Linked DNA regions of Homo sapiens: region 2 is linked to region 1. Evidence: promoter capture Hi-C in 16 types of primary human blood cells and fetal thymus (Javierre and others, 2016). All regions are on one chromosome and are shown on one strand. Each heading gives the region's core, a stretch centred on a gene start or on the middle of the fragment in contact. The rest is flanking DNA. Distances are from core to core; before and after follow the strand shown. Region 1 holds the start of ADAM30 (ADAM metallopeptidase domain 30). Region 2 overlaps NOTCH2 (notch receptor 2).

The links. The method cuts DNA at HindIII sites, captures the fragments that hold promoters and counts their contacts. A CHiCAGO score of 5 or more calls a contact.
Region 2: a contact is called between a fragment that was not itself captured here and the fragment with the promoter of ADAM30 in region 1, in 12 of 17 cell types (erythroblasts, M0 macrophages, M1 macrophages and 9 more). The highest score is 14.4, in erythroblasts.

What each region holds. Positions count from the first base shown.
Region 1 is chr1:119,895,198-119,898,137 of GRCh38, reverse strand. ADAM30 (ADAM metallopeptidase domain 30) reads left to right here and starts at 1,623. Exons shown (of 1, transcript NM_021794.4): 1 at 1,623-2,940. The coding sequence starts at 1,802. The HindIII fragment of the contact is 9,342 bases long and covers 1-2,940 here.
Region 2 is chr1:119,935,960-119,938,659 of GRCh38, reverse strand. It overlaps NOTCH2 (notch receptor 2), which reads left to right. Exons shown (of 34, transcript NM_024408.4): 20 at 650-803; 21 at 1,194-1,378. Among named protein-coding and RNA genes, the nearest start is that of ADAM30, 41 kb to the right of the region's middle. RefSeq lists an enhancer at 1,695-2,420. The HindIII fragment of the contact is 1,189 bases long and covers 811-1,999 here.

The sequences.
Region 1 (2,940 bases), core at 374-2,873:
GTCTTTCTCTGCTCATTCCTCACCATCCCATGAGGCATCATCATCAGCTTTTATGGCTTCAATCAGCACCACTGTGCAGAGGACTCCAGTTCAGCTCCAACTCAGGCATCTCAGCCCAGAGGATGCTGCCTACTCGTCTGCAGTTGAGAAATCCCTTCTTCAATGCTCCTTTACTGGCACCTGGAAATCTACATTTTGCAAGCAGAGCTTTTCATATTTATTTCCTTTATCTAAATCTATTTGTTCTGATGTTTTTCTTCTTTGAGTGGTTAGAACCATGACACACACATACACCTAAGCCAGAAACATCAACATTCTTTTTCATTTTTGCCTCTTTCATTCTGGGAGAATCCATGCAAGCATTAAGTCCAGCAGAGTCTAAGTGGTTTTAAATCTCTTGGAGCTGTCAACTTTTGTCCTTCCCTAAAGAGACAACAGAGTTGACTAGTAAAGAACACAGGCTCCGGGTAGAGTTGCCTAAATGTTCACAGGGATTGCTTCAGCTGACGCCACCTTCTGAACCATGGTACGGTTTTCATGTCCTCATGTGCAAAGTATGGGTGATAATAGTAGTACCTATAACCTAGGGTCATGGTGAAGATTTAATGGGCTGATTTATGCAGAGCATAGCGGGGTGTGTAGCATGAAACGAGCCAGTCTTCCATAAGTACTGCTTATTATCAGCCCTAAGGCCATGCTTTCTGCCAACAGACAACATTGCTTGGTACAAGAGCTTTTAACTAGTCTCCCTGACTCAAGCCTGTTCCTTTTTAACCTTTCCTTGTAATTCAGCCAGATGGAATCTCCCAGGAACAAAACTGAAAATATTCCTCTCTTATCAGAATCCCTCAGAATCACCTCATGACCTTCCGATTTGCCCTTTTACGGACGATAAACCCTTCCATTTTCTGAGCCAGAGGCTTCTTCCTTTGTGGAGTCAGCCTCATCGCTCGACTAGGAACATAACCAGCTATCTACCTTTCTCAGAAAGCACTTGGGTTTGCTCTTATAACAGGCACTTTTTCTAGGTTCTTCCCACCATTGCACATGGACACACAAAAATTACACTGACCCCTGGCACCCCAAAGACAAACAGCAGAAAGCACTCCCAGGCAAAATGAGCTCAGGACCTTTCTGTTGCCTGGGCCCACAACTAAGGTTCAGGGCCTTCTCTAAAAAGAAGCCGCAGCCGAAGACAGAGGAACTGCCCAGAGTGGGGCTGGGGGTGTGGAGTCTACGCTGATACTTTCAGGCTGTTTCCACTCTTGCTGGTTCTGATGCTCCTTTCTTTTGCCACAAGCAACCCTAGTGGAAAACTGGGAAATGTCCAACAATGAAGTTAGGACAGTGGCCCATAAAACATCGGATTCCAACCTGTGTCCTAAGGTGTAAAGACACAGAGTAAAGGCAAAGATACAGTGAGCCTTTAACACGTTCTCCTTTGTTCTTCCTATTTCTCTATTCCTTCTCCATTTCCGATGGTGTTCTCTACCCTCTCTCCAACCCACGTGCCAACAGCCCCTCTTTTCTCTTTTATTCTCGCCCACGTTTCCCTCCTTTCTTCCACCTGCGCCCAACGGTACGGCCCGGAAAACGAACTGGATGCGTTGGACAGGTCACGCGCGCATTGCGGACGCCAGCTAGACCGAGCCCTGGGAGGCTACGGGCTCCCCCGGAAACCCTGCCAGGGGAGCCGGGTTTTGAGCTCAGGCGCCTCTAGCGGCGGCCCCCAGAAATCTGACTCGCGAGGCCAGAGTTGCAGGGACTGAATAGCAAACTGAGGCTGAGTAGGGAACAGACCATGAGGTCAGTGCAGATCTTCCTCTCCCAATGCCGTTTGCTCCTTCTACTAGTTCCGACAATGCTCCTTAAGTCTCTTGGCGAAGATGTAATTTTTCACCCTGAAGGGGAGTTTGACTCGTATGAAGTCACCATTCCTGAGAAGCTGAGCTTCCGGGGAGAGGTGCAGGGTGTGGTCAGTCCCGTGTCCTACCTACTGCAGTTAAAAGGCAAGAAGCACGTCCTCCATTTGTGGCCCAAGAGACTTCTGTTGCCCCGACATCTGCGCGTTTTCTCCTTCACAGAACATGGGGAACTGCTGGAGGATCATCCTTACATACCAAAGGACTGCAACTACATGGGCTCCGTGAAAGAGTCTCTGGACTCTAAAGCTACTATAAGCACATGCATGGGGGGTCTCCGAGGTGTATTTAACATTGATGCCAAACATTACCAAATTGAGCCCCTCAAGGCCTCTCCCAGTTTTGAACATGTCGTCTATCTCCTGAAGAAAGAGCAGTTTGGGAATCAGGTTTGTGGCTTAAGTGATGATGAAATAGAATGGCAGATGGCCCCTTATGAGAATAAGGCGAGGCTAAGGGACTTTCCTGGATCCTATAAACACCCAAAGTACTTGGAATTGATCCTACTCTTTGATCAAAGTAGGTATAGGTTTGTGAACAACAATCTTTCTCAAGTCATACATGATGCCATTCTTTTGACTGGGATTATGGACACCTACTTTCAAGATGTTCGTATGAGGATACACTTAAAGGCTCTTGAAGTATGGACAGATTTTAACAAAATACGCGTTGGATATCCAGAGTTAGCTGAAGTTTTAGGCAGATTTGTAATATATAAAAAAAGTGTATTAAATGCTCGCCTGTCATCAGATTGGGCACATTTATATCTTCAAAGAAAATATAATGATGCTCTTGCATGGTCGTTTGGAAAAGTGTGTTCTCTAGAATATGCTGGATCAGTGAGTACTTTACTAGATACAAATATCCTTGCCCCTGCTACCTGGTCTGCTCATGAGCTGGGTCATGCTGTAGGAATGTCACATGATGAACAATACTGCCAATGTAGGGGTAGGCTTAATTGCATCATGGGCTCAGGACGCACTGGGTTTAGCAATTGCAGTTATATCTCTTTTTTTAA
Region 2 (2,700 bases), core at 156-2,655, 41 kb before region 1:
GAAAACCCATAAAGCCTATGATAATCATATGAGTGCACAACAATAAACAATGTGGTACAAAACCACCCAGCAAGCCTGCCATATTGGTTAGTGTTGCTTTCTGAGCTGTGTGGTGGTAAGAGGTGCTGACGGTTTTGCTTTGCAAACATTTATTCCTTGACTTGACCTGCCACCACTAGGACTGCTATTACTCATGGATTCACCAAAAATTGGATAAATAATTATCTTGTTTTTATTAATATTTCTTAAATGAATGTATAGCTTGTTTATTTTAATGTTTAATATCAGAAGTGGGTGTTAATTTGAAGTTTAGTGATTTTTTTTTTAACCAGAAATAAGTAGAGGAACTTAACTCTTTTTTATATCAATTAGACTGTGGTAAAATTGGTTTCGTTATATATCGTTGTCCTTAAAGTCACAGTTTCCAAGAACCTAATGATGACATTAAGTGAAGACTTAACGGTACGTAAAAATGGTTAGGTGTACCTCGGAACACTGAATCTAGTTTAAGGGCTCTTTTACTAGATGAAGGCTCTTTTTCTTTTTAATCAGTTTGCTTTTCTTTGATTTCTTGTAACACAATATAACTTCTTTTCTTCATTTCTAGTATTTGAATTTTGATGTATGTACACCCCTGCCTCTGTTTCAGACCCTGGTGAATCTCTGCAGTCGGTCTCCATGTAAAAACAAAGGTACTTGCGTTCAGAAAAAAGCAGAGTCCCAGTGCCTATGTCCATCTGGATGGGCTGGTGCCTATTGTGACGTGCCCAATGTCTCTTGTGACATAGCAGCCTCCAGGAGAGGTAAGCTTTGCTCCCTTGGGCTCAGGTCATTCACTGCAGTATTGACTGTCCAGTGGCATTTAGAGAAGGTATCATTTTTTTGTGGAATAAGAGGGAAGGGCAGATAGTAGTGGGTGGGCAGGGCTCTGGGGAAAGGGCTCAAGACAGAAGGTGTAAGGGTAGAGGAATAGGTTCAGAGATTCGGAGAAGAATGTATTTGAAATGAAACTAAGGTATATTCCACTTTCAGGGTTTATTTTTAATATGCATCTGGTACTGAGGGTTGTGAAGAACTGGCTAAGAATAAGATTGGATGTGTCAGCCAGTTTAGATTTACTTGCTCATTGGTTGATTTGAACCCCATGTGTCACATGTTCTTCTATGACATTTCTCCCTCACTGGGTTTCCCAGGTGTGCTTGTTGAACACTTGTGCCAGCACTCAGGTGTCTGCATCAATGCTGGCAACACGCATTACTGTCAGTGCCCCCTGGGCTATACTGGGAGCTACTGTGAGGAGCAACTCGATGAGTGTGCGTCCAACCCCTGCCAGCACGGGGCAACATGCAGTGACTTCATTGGTGGATACAGATGCGAGGTGAGGACACTGAGCAAGCAGAGGTCATGGACCTCCCAGGAGATTGTACAACTGTTTGAGCACTGATATATTGAATTTAGCTGCTTGTATCTTATATTGATAGTTTATAGATTTTTACCAATCCCCGTCATAATGTTTACCACTGTTTCTTTCAGCCTCTCTGTGCAATAAGTTAACAGGTCCCTAGTATGATATTTTTATAGGCGTCTGGAACCATCCCAGCTCCTTAGGCTTGCTTTTAGGATTCAGAGCCAAGAGTCACTACCAGAGTGCATTTTACAGGCCCACCCAACATAGCAGTCCACACTTCCCTGAATAGCAGCTGAGATAGGAAAAACTGCTTTGTGGAGTGTCCCTTTGGCCCCTGTCACCTTTGTATTTAGTCATTAATCAGTCAACTAGCAATTTTCTCTCAAAAAAAAAAAATGTTGCTCATCCTGTTCCCCATAGCATCATGCTAAACGTTACATGTATATATTTGAGGAAGTATGTGTCTTCAAGGTACATGTCACTATTTTAATGTCTGGGCTGATAATGGTTAGAGCAAGCAAGATATTAGCAAAATGCCTGAGACATTAATTTGATACCAATTCAAACCATCAAGCAACACTGAGAAAAGCTTTGCTTCTCTATTGTTATATAAATGAGCCAACGATAGCTTCTGTATTTTGGCCCCTAGGTTGTTTATTTCTTCACAGCAGGCTGGGGCTGGGTCTCATTAGCTCAAAAGCCTACCAGTGCCAAACCCAAATTTTGACACATCTAGTTGTTTTAAACATAGCCCCCAAATAAGCAGATTTTTAGCTATTTAGAGCTTGCCTGCTTTGCATAGCCTGTAAAACTGCAGCCAAAATCTGCTAGCCATAGTATAAGTAGGACAAGATATACCCTGGGGCCATACAGACCCCAGGCTGATGCTGGCCTTTAGAGCTCTCTGACCCAGAGATTCCTGCCACTGGCTGTTGAGTGACATCACCTAGACTCCTTCTCTGATCCTTCTTTCCCAGAGTTTACTTGCTGTCTTCCCCTTACTCACCTACCCCTCTGGAAGGTCTCATGCTATTTGGGACTTCTCCCAGGTGCAAACCTGTCAAAGTGTCCAAATAAAGCCACCTCACAGCCATATCTTTTTTCTTGGTCAGCCCTGAAATCCTTCCAACCCCTACAGCCACCACAGCCAGCCAGCCAGCCCCACCTCCCTCTACCCCTAAGCCTATCTCAACCAGTTTCTCACACATAGATCCAATTTCCTAAACCTGGAGATCAATAATTGCATGTCTGTACTACCATCCACATATGCCTTTTGACCGAGTCATAGGGTC